Linked DNA regions of Homo sapiens: all the other regions are linked to region 3. The links are contacts of gene promoters, found by promoter capture Hi-C in blood cells and fetal thymus (Javierre and others, 2016). All regions are on one chromosome and are shown on one strand. Each heading gives the region's core, a stretch centred on a gene start or on the middle of the fragment in contact. The rest is flanking DNA. Distances are from core to core; before and after follow the strand shown. Region 1 has its middle 21 kb from the start of GBGT1. Region 2 has its middle 12 kb from the start of GBGT1. Region 3 holds the start of SURF4 (surfeit 4).

Region 1 (4,121 bases), core at 384-2,883, 230 kb after region 3:
ATGCTGTCTCTGAAGGTTCTAGGAGAGGATACTTCCTTGCATCTTCCAACCTCTGGTGGCTGCCAGTTTCCTTGGCATTCGTTCCTGGTTTTGTAGACGTGTGACTGCAAACTGTGCCTTCATCAGTTCGTGTCTGTCCGCCTGTGCGTGTCTGTCCAATTTTCCCTGTTATCATAAGGATAGCAGTCATTGGATTAAGGCCCACCCTAATCCAGTATGACCTCATCCGGATTCTATCCGCACAGACCCTATTTCCAAATAAGATCTCATTCACGGGTACCAGAGATCTTTTTGTTCAGGGACACAGTTCAACCCGTAACAGGAGTATTGGGAATGATCCCCCTCCCAAAGGCCGGGTACCCGCGTGCCTACGGGGACTAGGGGAGCAGCGGGGAGTCGGAAGACATCGCAGGAACCCAGCCCCCAGCCAGGGGGTGTGGGGGCGTGAGCGGAGCCCGCCTGCTCCTCAGCTTGGCGCGCTCTGGCGGCAGCACCAGCAGGTGGCGCTGTGCCCTCCCGTGCGGCCGCCCAGCCCGGCGCGGAGCTGCCGCAGACAAAGGTCTCGCTTTCGGGTCGCGAGGAGCTTGCGCACAGCTGTAAACAGGCCAGGGGCACGGCCACCTCATGGGTGACACACACGGGAGGAAATCAAACCAGGCGGGGCCGAGGCGGGGTGACTGGGTGGCGACTTTGCGTCGGAGGCCGGCGGGGGGCGGAGGAGGAGGTGACAGGGGTGGCGAGGAGGACCATGGTTTGCAGACCGTGGTGTCAGCGGGGCGGAAAGGAAGGCAGGGAGGAGGGATAGGGGACCTGCGAGGCTGCAGGGGCCAGGAGTTTGCCTTTCGTTTGGTTCCTCGCCTGCAAGCTGAGCCGGCCTTTCTCAGGCCTCTCCAGAGGCCGTGCGGCTGATGACACTGCGGTTTGCAGATAGCTCTCCTGTTACTGCAGGCCCAGGTCTGCGGGTGCTCGGAAGGCAGCCCTGGGCACGGGTGGGCTGTCTGTGCAGATAGAGACTTGAGGGGTCCTTCCCCCCAACCCCAGCCCCAGACCCTGCCTCAGGGGAGCTGGGATGCCTGAGGTGGTCCTGCTGCTCCTGGTGGGGGTCAGCACAGCCCCTCAGAGGCGCCTTTGATATACAAAGGGGCGAGGCAGTGTGGGGCTGAGGAGCAGGGGTCAGGTCCCCGCCATGGAGCTGCTCACATGGCATCAGCGAAAGGGAGCGGAGTGCACAGCGGGCCGCTGGCCCAGGAGTGGAATGAGTGGAAGCCATTCCTTTATTTTATTATTATTATTATTATTATTATTATTATTATTGTTGTTGTTGTTGTTATTATTATTATTATTATTATTATTATTATTATTGAGACAGGGTCTTGCTCTGTGGCCCAGGCTGCAGTGCAGGGGCCAGATCACGGCTCACTGCGTCCTCGACCTCCTGGGCTCAGACCTCCAGAGTAGCTGGGGCGGCAGGTGCACGCCAACACTCCCAGCTAATTTTTGGATTTTTTTTGTAGAAACAGTTTCACCATGTTGCCCAGGCTGGTCTCAAACACCTGGGCTCAAGGGATTCCCCCCGCCTCGGCCTCCCAAACTGCTAGGATTAAAGGCTTGAGACACTGCATCCAGCAAGAGGCCATTTCTTACTGTCACCTCCCTACCCGCACAAGGCCCTCCCACCACCTCCTCGCTCACCGAGCTACCAGGCCCGCCCCTGAGGCTGCTGGTCCTTGACAGTTGGTTCAGCGATTGATTCACACAGCAGATACTGGCCTCTGTACACCTGGCTGGCGCTGGGTGCCTGGCCTGTGGGAAGCACCCTGGCTTCTGTGGAAGGCTCAGGGGTATGGGGCAGACAGATCTTGTGGAGAAGGCATGGGCTGCGAGCCTGGGGACCTGGATTCAGTGGCCACTCTGCCATCAGTGGCGTGGTCAGTCACCATTGCACGCTAGCCACAGGACTATTCTCCACAGAGTCCTTCCCTCTGTCCCCTGCTGCAGAGGTGCCTGGTGATGACAGCCAGCCTGTAGGCCTTGTGCTAAAGTGTCCCTTGTATCTGCTCAGCACTCTGCAAGATAAGTGCCACTGCCATCCTCACTTCCAGGTGGGGAAACTGAGGCACTGGAAGGGGAAGGAACTCCCACAGCTAGGTAGTGGCAGCTTGGCAATGGCGCCTCCCCGTGTGCACACAAGCCTGGGAAGGGCCAGGCACCAGGACCACATTCCTTCCAATTACAGTGGCCTTCCAACGGTCAGGGCTGGGCCCGGCTGCTGGGCAGGGCGGGGCTGGGAGGCCCTAGGCCCCAAGTGGTGGTTAATGGCGGCAAGGAGACATAAACAGAGCTAATGAGCCCCTTTCATCGTCTCCCTGCTCTAATGAAGGCCTTGGACTCTGGGCTTTGCATTTTGGGGGTTCTTGATTCTGGAGCCTCAAAGAGTCTTAGGGCCAGGGGTATGTGGGCCCCCCCATAGGGGTGGGGTGTGAGCTTATGGACTCCCAGTGTCCCCTCCCAGGGCAGCCAAGCCAGGGTGAGGAAGTGGAGAGGAAAGGGAACGGGAAGCATTGTGGCATCCCCCTAAGAATGACAAGCCCCAGAAAAAAGGGAGTGTTCCCGTGGCAACCCAGAGCAGTTGCTTGGCAACTGCTGGCCCCCAAAATACTTGCCTGCAGGAAGGCTCCGGGCTGGGGCTTTCCGATGGGCTTTCCGATGGCTCACTTCCAACCCCCACCAGCGCACACCCACCCCTGGCCCAAAAAGAAGACTCTGAGGCTGAAAGAGAAAATGCAGAGACCAGGGTCCAGGACCTTCATTAGAGCCTGGGGAGGAAGGGGCCTGACCTGCTGAGTTTCCTCAGATACTTCTCATGGCCCTCCACCCTGACACAGGACCCAGTAGACTCTGCCCCTGGATCCTTCCTGAGGGACACCCCAGTCCACTCCCCCCTCCCCATCTCCCCACTCTGCCAGCCACCCGGCATCAAGCCAGTCCCCTAGCAACAGAGGCCGCTTCCTGGATACCTGAGTGAGAGTTGACAGTGGCAGAATGTCAGAAAACGCAAGGTCAGAAAGCACAGCGATGGCTCGGTGCCAGCCAGAGTGTGTGGGGCCATGGGGTACCACGTGTGGTACCGTGTGCTTTGCCGCCCTGCAGCCGTGGGCTCCCTGGCCTGGGGCTGGATGGCATGCCAGGTTGTGGTTGGGCTGGGTACAGCCCTTGGAACAGGGGACTGTGGTTCTGGGCCAACTTTGATACCGACTGACTATGTGACCTTAGTGTGTCCCTTCTCGCTGGCCTCAGTTTCCCCATTGGTGGCCCATCTACCCCTCTGCCTGTGTGTTTACCGTTCAGTGCATAAACATTGCCCTGTGAATTATGTCACCTACTGGGGCCTTGGGGCAGGAGAGTGAGGGGACCAGGACCAGGCCGCCACTGCCCTTCCTCCTCACATGTCGGCATCCACCTCGGCCATCAGGCCCCTGGTCCTCAGGTGAGGCAGGTGGCTTTGGAGCAGGACACCTGGGTCCAAATTCCAGCTCAGCGCTTATTGCTGGGCATCCTAGAAGCAGCACAGGTCCCCTCTGAGCCTCCCTGTCTGCCCTGAGGTCCCCGCAGTTGCTGTGAGGGTGTAAGAAAGCCCTGCCCTTGGGCTCCCATAGGGGCTGCCTTAGTTTGTGGGCACCCACCCTGCACCCAGACTTGGGCACTGCGGGAGCCGAGGTGAGAACATGGATGAGGGGTGTCCAGCCTGGAAGGAGCGAGGTGGAGCCCCAGACCCTGGGAGAGGGTGGGGCAGTAGAATGGTGGGAAAAGGCAGGTGGGGCCACACTGCCCAGTGGGTTGGACTTTGGGGATGGGAAGGCTATGAGACCTGGTTGCCTCAGATGTTCTCTCTGGGGATGGCAGTGAGGGTAGGACTGTTGGTGACAACTCTGCAGGAACTCCCGGTGCTCTCATGGAGCCAGGATGCCAGTCTGACCCTGGTCATTTGCTCACTGTGTGACCCTGGGTCATGATTTCACCCCTCTGAGCCTCCCTTGCCCCATCTGTCAAATGGGCAAGGGGTGTGCCCACCTCCGGAGTTGGGTACTGGGCTCGTATGTTCACTTGGGGGTCGTCGGCTG
Region 2 (4,308 bases), core at 1,047-3,546, 200 kb after region 3:
CCTTACACAAGAACGTGGTGCTAAACATAGGTCCATTGCATACGATAGCCTGCAATTAGGCCCAGACTCTAAGGCATATTCTAACTGTTTAAAAGCAGTAGCAGCAGCTGCCAAGCTGGTAGAAGCTTCATCAGATCTGGTTTTAGGAAGCGAACTTAATTTGCAAACCTCACATGCTGTGGAAAGTCTGTTAAATTCCAACCAAACCCAGCATTTTTCAGTAAGTAAACTAACATTTTATGAATTACTGCTATCTCCTAATCTTCATTTAAAATGCTGTAATCTACTTAACCCTGCTACTCTGTTACCTTTGCCTGACGATGGTGAAGAACACAACTGTGTAAATGTAGTGCCAGAAATAGTGGCCCCTCATGTTGATTTACAAGATACTCCAGTGGATAATCCTGGATTTATACTTTTTGTTGATAGGTCCTATCCTAAAATCTCAGAAGGAAAATACCAGGCAGAATATGCTGTTACCATCCAAAATGAGTGAATAGAGAAGGAAACGCTTCCTCAATTTAAGTCAGCCCGAACTGCAGAGCTTTTTGTCCTTACCCAAGTTTGTCATATAGCTGAGGACAAGTCAGTAAATATTTATACAGCTAGTAGATATGCTTTCGGAGTAGTACATGATTTTGGCGTGATATGGAAACTATGAGGGTTTCTCACCTCTAGTGGGACCTCCATCAAAAATAGACCCCAAGTAAATGAGCCCCTTTCTGCTATCCTGTTACCATTGTAGACTGTTGTTACTAAGATTGAAGCTCATACTTGTAGAACTGAACCCAAATATCAGGGAAATGCTTTAGCAAATTTTTATGCTAAATCAGCTAGTGCTGAAACTGTTAAGAAATGCAATCTGAATGAACTCCATTGGATTAAGCCGAGCCCACTTCCTTATGATGACCTGCTTAGTAAACAGTGCAGTGCACCTGATTTGGAAAAGCAAAATTGGTATCTAAAAGGATGTAAATTTAATGTGATGCACAGACTCACGGAGGGCCCAGACGGCCGCCTGGTCCTTCCTGAGTCTTTGAAGCTTCCATTGTTGAAAACGCTGCACTCCACCGCTCATCATGGAACAGACAAAATGATCCAAATTATGAAAAAATACTGGTCGGGTGACTGTTCCAAAATTGCTAAAATGGTTTATAATCAATGTTTGACTTGTCAAACTCATAATCCTGGAAAAACAATCAAAACTTCAGGTCATATATTTCCACCACCTGATGAACAATTTGAGCATTTACAGATGGACTTAATTTAGTTGTGACGCGCAATGGGGTATCAGTATGTTCTTGTAATAGTTTGCATGTTTTTGGCCGGGCGTGGTGGCTCACGTCTGTAATCCCAGCCCTTCGGGAGGCCGAGGTGGGTGGATCACAAGGTCAGGAGATCGAGACCATCTTGGCTAACATGGTGAAACCCCCTCTCTACTAAAAAATACAAAAAAATTAGCCGGGCGTGGTGGCAGGCACCTGTAGTACCAGCTACTCGGGAGACTGAGGCAGGAGAATGGTGTGAACCCGGGAGGCAGAGCTTGCAGTGAGCCGAGATCGCGCCACTGCACTCCAGCCTGGGCAACAGAGCAAGACTCCGTCTCAAAAAAACAAAAAGGGGCCCCTTCAGAGTCCTGGAACTGTACACCTGTTGGAGACTTTAAAGTAAAGCTGACCAAGGAAATCTCTCTTCAGAAGCAGACAGCATCCTAGTTTTGGACAGCTTTCCCAAGATCATGGACCAAGACTTCTCTATCATCAGGAAAGCCTTATGTGTTTTTCTGTTTTCCTCATCTTCTGCCCTAATCTTGTCCTTTTCCCTACAGGCAAACCCATGGCACCATAATCAGTGGATGGCTTTAGCTCAAGTTTATGCTCTAGCACAAAACCAGAGTAATTGTTGGGTTTGTGGGCTAATGCCAAAAAAAAATCAGGAAATGATTCCACTGGTGCCAGTGCCCCTCCGCGTTCCCAGCGAGAGCTACCTGAAACTAAGGGAAGAACAGAAAGTTATTCTTGATATGCTAAACATCACTGCTACTTGCTTCCTACACTCACTAAAAACAACACTCTAACTTTTTCAATTGATAAGTCGATCATTACCAAATATAAAAAAACAATCCAAGGCTGGGTGCAGTGGCTCATGTCTGTAATCCCAGCACTTTGGGAGGCTGAGGCAGGTGGATCAACTGAGGTCAGGAGTTTGAGACCAGCCTGGCCAACATGGTAAAACCCCATCTCTACTAAAAATACAAAAATTAGCCAGGCATGGTGGTAGGCGCCTATAATCCCAGCTACTGGGGAGGCTGAGGTAGGAGAATCACTTGAACCTGGGAGGCAGAGGTTGCAGTGAGCCAAGATCGTGCCATTACACTCCACTCCAGCCTGGGCAACAAGAGCGAAACTTCGTCTCAAAAAAAAAAATCCAAGTGATGCCAGCAAAAGATACATTGTGCTTCCAGACATCACGCACTCAAGATTTGGGAATTACTTATGTTGATACAAGTGATTGCTTGTATAATGTAACTGGATTAAATCCAGTAGGGTCTCTTTTTTACTAGATATGGTTATATACCCTTACAACATGCTATAAAGGGGCCACAGAAAAGTAAATTTCCCACTGGACGTTGTTCAGGAGGTATGCAGATTTGTGGTCGAACAAACCTGACTGATCTCTGCTCAAATGCAACTAGGTGGCCCTCTTTTCCAATCCCCAAGGGTCTATACTGGGTCTGTGAAGAGTCTGCGTATCCTGTTCTGCCTCCTCATTGGTTGGGTTCTTGTTATGTGGCCTGGCTTGCTCCTGCCTTTCAAATAGCTTCCCCTGAAAATTCTCATGATGGCCCTTATGATTGGAGGCCAAAATGATCAATAACTGAAATTAGCACTAGCCTTGAAATATTTGAGGATAAGCTCGTTTCTACTGAGGAAAGATTCCAGTGGGATTCCTGGGGGTGCACTCTTGGTGGTAGTGAGATAGCAGTTGTATGGAATTTAAAGCTAATTTGTAAATTGGGAAAAATCTTGGATTTTGTAATCAATCAGACCTCCCAGGGTTTCAGATGGGTAGAAGCTGCTCTCAGAAAGATAGATGACAGGGCTGGGCATGGTGGCTCACGCCTGTAATCCCGGCATTTGGGAGGCCAAGGCGGGCAGATCTCTTGAGGTCAGAAGTTTGAGACCAGCCTGGCCAACATGGTGAAACCCCATCTCTACTAAAAATACAAAAATTAGCCAGGCATGGTGGCTCATGCCTGTAATCCCAGCTACTTGGGAGGCTGAGGCAGTAGAATCGCTTGAACCCAGGAGGCGGTGGTTGCAGTGAGCCAAGATAATGCCATTGCACTCCAGCCTGGGCAACAGAGTGAGACTCCATCTCAAAAAAAAAAAAGATAGATGACAACACGTGAATTCAGCAAAAACACTTACTGGAACATCGTGCAACCTCAGATCTTTTTGCTCAAGCTGGAAGCCTAGGTTTGGTGTTAAACAAAACTGAATGTTGTACTACTTATCTCTTACCTGATTTTGTTATTACAGGAAGCTTAATTTAAAAGGTGCTGATACTGCTGTTTCCTTAGACACTGCCACCAAATACATTAAAGACATCTCTCAAGAGAAAGGAGCCCATGACATGTTTACAATAGGCAACTAACGGTTTGCAGGCATCCTAAGGGTGGATGGCAAGCTTGGGTTTTCCAAGGGCTTCTAATCCTTATAATTCTTCTAGTAGGTTTCCAAGTTATTATGACTTGTATTACCAATGTAACAATGAAAATGAGTAACTGTTTAAGTCAGGCCACTTTACAGCAAACCATGGTCCTTAATCGCTATCATACTCTAAACGAGGATAATGACCAATTGGACCCTAACACTGTTGAACTGCCTATATTGTCTGAACCTTCACTTGGCTAATTTGGTTCGGTTCATTTCATAAGAACTCTCATTAAGGAGTACGCCTTGGCATTTTGATAGTATCCTCTTGATAGTCATAATAATCGTCACCCTGATACACTGTATCCTCTCAAGTCTTAAATGTTTTGTATGCAGCCATCCATTGAGAGTTGAATGGTCTCATTCCAACCAGGTCAAAAAGAACATAAAGAATCATTTAGCTGGTACAAAGCTGCAACTTGTGAATTCCATGTTAACACCAAAGAAGATGTGTGAGACTCCATACTGAAACTAAAGAAGACTTGTGAATTCCACACTGAGACCAAATAAGTCTTTAGGATGGTGACAGAGAGTGGCATCAATGCCTAAAGCTTCGGTCAATCTCTCTAAATTGAGAGGCTGACCAAAAGAG
Region 3 (4,085 bases), core at 1,586-4,085:
GAGGAAATGGCCCAAGGAGGGCAAGAAGCCTTTCAATGGCAGAACTCTGATCTCACCTATTTGGGGCCGATTCTGGAGCTCTTCTACAACCCTGTATCCCTCCCCCAACCTGCAATGAGGACCAGCTGGGCACTCAAGTGCAAGAACCTCCCAGAGAAAAAGGGCTTATTCACTCTCTATAGACCTCTGTGACCTCAACTTCCAGCATCCACCTCCCAACTGGTTTCCAACAAGAAAGTAACCAATCTTGTGACTGGTACAATCAGGAAGCCATTGTGTGCCTGGCATGGTGCCAAGCACTTCACAGCCACCCTTTGCAGTTGACACCATTGCTACCTCTGTGTTTACATTGGGGAAAACTGAGGCACAAGGAGCTAGGTCCTTGCCTGAGGCTATGTCACTAGAAAGCAGGACACTGCCTGGGGTAACTCTGGGGGTCTGATCTTAGAGCCTGTGATTTGAGCCAAATCTGGAGAGATGGCCACCAAGCCAGAACTCTGTGCAGAGACCAAGTGCTATGGGGCAGGGGGCTGGGCCGGGGATTGCTGGAGGCTGACATTCATCAGAGGATTGGGGGAGGGAGGGCAGGACCCAGAGGAGGAGATATGAGGATGGAAGCCTGAGCCTAGGGACTCTCGGAGCCCATAAAAGTCTTAGGAGTCTGTAATCCAGCCTTGTGAGCAGCCTGCTCATGACACTGGATATTCTAAGCCAGGGGTCCCCAACCTAGTCCGTGGCCTGTTAGGAACCAGGCTGCACAGCAGGAGGTGAGCAGCAGGCAGTGGAGCAAAGCTTCATCTGTATTTACAGCCGCTCCCCATGGCTCGCATTACCACCCAAGCTCCACCTCCTGTCAGCTCAGCAGCAGCATTAGATTCTCATGGGAGTGTGAACCCTATTGTGAACAGTGCATGTGAGGGATCCAGGTTGCATGCTCCTTATGAGAAACAAATGCCTGATGATCCGTCACTGTCTCCCATCATCCCGAGAGGATGGTCTAGTTGCAAGAAAACAAGCTCAGGGCTCCCACTGATTCTACATTATGGTGAGTTGTGTAATTATTTCATTATGTATTACAACATAATAATAGAAATGAACTGCACACTAAGTGTAATGTGCTTGAATCATCCCAAAACCATCCTCCCGCCTCCATCTGTGGAAAAATTGTCTTCCACAAAACTGGTCCCTTGTGCCAAAAAGGTTGGGGACTGCTATTTTTTTTTTTCTTTCTGAGACAGAGTTTTGCTCTTGTTGCCCAGGCTGGAGTCCAATGGCGCTATCTTGGCTCACCACAACCTCTGCCTCCTGGGTTCAAGCGATTCTCCAGCCTCAGCCTCCCGAGTAGCTGTGATTACAGGCATGCGCCACCACACCTGGCTAATTTTGTATTTTTAGTAGAGACAGTTTCTCCATGTTGGTCAGGCTGGTCTTGAACTCCCGATCTCAGGTGATCCGCCCGCCTTGGCCTCCCAAAGTGTTGGGGATTACAGGCGTGAGCCACCGAGCCCGGCCAGGGACTGCTGTTCTAAGCCACAGCGGGCTGAGGGCAGAGCTGGTGTGAGAGCGTTCAAGCTTAGGCAGCAAATTAAACAGTAAAATGGAGCCGTATCTCGAATCAAGTCTATTTTTTTTTCCAAAAGCAGGTATATTCCTGAAACGTCTATTTTTTTTTAATCTGAAAAACAACTTTACTTTAAAAATTATCTGGCCACCAGAAGCTCATCTGCTTCACCTCTGGCAACGCCCTATAGTCCTCTCACACAAAGACAATTCTTCCAAAGTGACAAAAATCTAACCCGCAAACTGTTTCCAAGCGAATGCATTTTTCACAAATGCTGAATCTAACATTTAATAAAGTGTATATATCATGTATAGAAGCATTTAATTAAACATTTACTTTTATTTTGCAGCTTTCCTTTTGTGTTTTGTGAATTTTTTAGGTCTCAAACATTTTCACAGACCCACGCTGCAGGGGTGTTTTTAGGGGACTGGGGGCTCCCAATTATGTACTCGGGATGTTCCCGGGGGTCCTGCCTCGGTGGACCCAAGCGCACAGACCCCAGGCACGAAGGATAGAGGAGCTGCCCCACGCCCTCAAATACTCAGCCAGGGCTGGAGAATCCTTAGTCAATTCACAAAGGGGGAAACTGAGTGGCAAAGGGCACCCAGGAGGTCACCGTTGGAGGCCCCCCGGGTTCAACCTAGGAGCTGCAGGCCGACACTGGCCAGGGCGCGGGCCCCTCGCCGCCCTCGGTCGGAACCGCCGGCCGTAGCTCCAGGGTTGCGACCGTTACCCCACGGAGCTCCCGCCTCCCCGCAGGGAACACTCGGCACCTGGTACTTCTCCATGGGCTCTCCGGGGGACCCTGGGCCTCGCTCCCCCTGCGTGGGGCGCCTGCGATTGGACCCTGGCCCAAGCATGATCAGTAGCGACCGCGTACGGGCGAGCGTCCACCCCTGGCCCCACCCCGCGTGGGTCAGTGGGACCCGCGGGATCCTCCCCGCCCGAACGGCGCCCTCGAGGCACTCAGGCGTCCCTCCCGCGCGCTGGCCCCAGACCCCCAGGTCCCCGCCCCCTTAAAAGGGACGCGTTCCGCCGGGCCGGGAGGGACCGCAGGGCCTGCGCGCGGCGGGCGGGGCCTCCAGCGTGAGAGGCGTGGCGTCGAGCGCGGCGGGCGTGGCTTCGAGCGGATGGGTCGGGAGGCTGGGGATGGCGCGTGGCCCCTTTAAGACGCACCGGGGCGGGCCCGGGCGGCGCGCGGCCCCTTTAAGGCTTGGCCTACGTGGCAGCCGCTGGAGCCGCAGCCGACGCGGAGCGAGGCCGGCCGCCGGGCACTTCCTGTGGAGGCCGCAGCGGGTGCGGGCGCCGACGGGCGAGAGCCAGCGAGCGAGCGAGCGAGCCGAGCCGAGCCTCCCGCCGTCGCCATGGGCCAGAACGACCTGATGGGCACGGCCGAGGACTTCGCCGACCAGGTGCGGCCTGCGGGCTCCTCCCCCGGCCCCGGTCCCGACCCAGGCCGCCCGGGCCGCTCCGGAGTCGGCCTCCCAGCGCAGGGCGCCAGGCCCGGGCCGCCCCCTGACTCCTTGTTCCCACAGGGGGACCCCCCCGCCCGGGCCCTCTGTCCCGGCTGGACAGCCCCAAACCCGGCCTCCGGGCCCAGTCTCCCCTGCCCGCTGGGCCGCTCCCGGAGCCCGGGCCTCGGCGCCCTGCCTGGCTAGCCGCCCCCACCCTCCAGCCAGCCCGGGGCGCGGGCTGTGGGGGTTTCTTCCCGGGCCGGCGGCGCGAGTCCTGGCGTTGGGTCGGGTCTGAGGCTCGCGGGGAGCGCCTCGGCGTTTGGAGCTGCTGGGGGGTCCCCGCACGTTTTTCCTCTCACTGGGGCTCCCGGAGGCGGGCTGGGAGCTCGGGGACGAACGGGGGCCGGGGGTCCTCCCAGAGGAAAGGGGGCGCGCTGGCGTGCGCCCCAGCTACAGGAAGCCACAGCACCTTTTCCTTTTCTCTTTCCCAGATGTGCTGGACTCTTGGGGTCCCTTTGACCCTGTCTGCGTCTCCCTCCCCGTTTGGACTCTGCCCTGGGCTGGATTGAGTGGGGACCTGTACACAGCCTGGGAGGAGGGGAAGCCTATCTCCCTGATAGTCTCCTTCCAGAAGTGTCCAGGTGGCATTCTGAGCAACAGGGAAGCCTTTGAAACAGGCGGTTGGGTAACTGTTGAGAGCATTCGGGAACTGGGTGGACAGGATCCGATCCTACAAAGTGAAGGGACACAACTCCCTTCCCTCTTTCTTGATTAAGCTTGACAGAACAAAAAAACAAAAACAAAAGGTGGTGGTGGTTACGCAGATTTATGCCTTTTACTTCTAAAAGAATCCCGTTATGTCGACAAATTAACAGCCTTATCCCCGCAGGGAGAGCCTTGTGTGGCCCACTTGCCGTTTTTTCCTCGGTTTACTTAATGTGTTCGTGTGGCTTTGCTAGAGTTTTAAGTAGTGATGGTTAAATTTTTAAATTTTTCTGGAGGTGGTAGTGAGTCATCAAACTCTGAGGCCTAGACTTATCGGAAGGCTTGTATATGTGTGGTTTAAAAAA

Evidence for each region. Contacts are between HindIII fragments. The CHiCAGO score rates a contact against its expected background, and 5 or more counts as called.
Region 1: a fragment that was not itself captured here is called in contact with the fragment with the promoter of SURF4 in region 3 in 2 of 17 cell types (naive CD8 T cells and total CD8 T cells); the score reaches 6.6 in naive CD8 T cells.
Region 2: a contact is called between a fragment that was not itself captured here and the fragment with the promoter of SURF4 in region 3, in 2 of 17 cell types (erythroblasts and M2 macrophages). The highest score is 6.1, in erythroblasts.

What each region holds. Positions count from the first base shown.
Region 1 is chr9:133,140,980-133,145,100 of GRCh38, reverse strand. It overlaps a transcript of RALGDS not described here. Among named protein-coding and RNA genes, the nearest start is that of GBGT1, 21 kb to the left of the region's middle. RefSeq lists silencers at 336-455, 486-585 and enhancers at 732-1,291, 1,744-1,833, 1,884-2,013, 2,413-2,462, 2,513-2,792. The HindIII fragment of the contact is 8,766 bases long and covers 1-4,121 here.
Region 2 is chr9:133,173,949-133,178,256 of GRCh38, reverse strand. No RefSeq gene overlaps it. Among named protein-coding and RNA genes, the nearest start is that of GBGT1, 12 kb to the right of the region's middle. The HindIII fragment of the contact is 2,504 bases long and covers 1,045-3,548 here.
Region 3 is chr9:133,374,810-133,378,894 of GRCh38, reverse strand. It overlaps SURF4 (surfeit 4), which reads left to right and starts at 2,835. Exons shown (of 6, transcript NM_033161.4): 1 at 2,835-2,973. The coding sequence starts at 2,926. It overlaps STKLD1 (serine/threonine kinase like domain containing 1), which reads right to left and starts at 2,529. Exons shown (of 18, transcript NM_153710.5): 1 at 2,335-2,529. The coding sequence starts at 2,421. RefSeq lists silencers at 2,291-2,790, 2,881-3,120, 3,131-3,410. The HindIII fragment of the contact is 2,219 bases long and covers 1,575-3,793 here.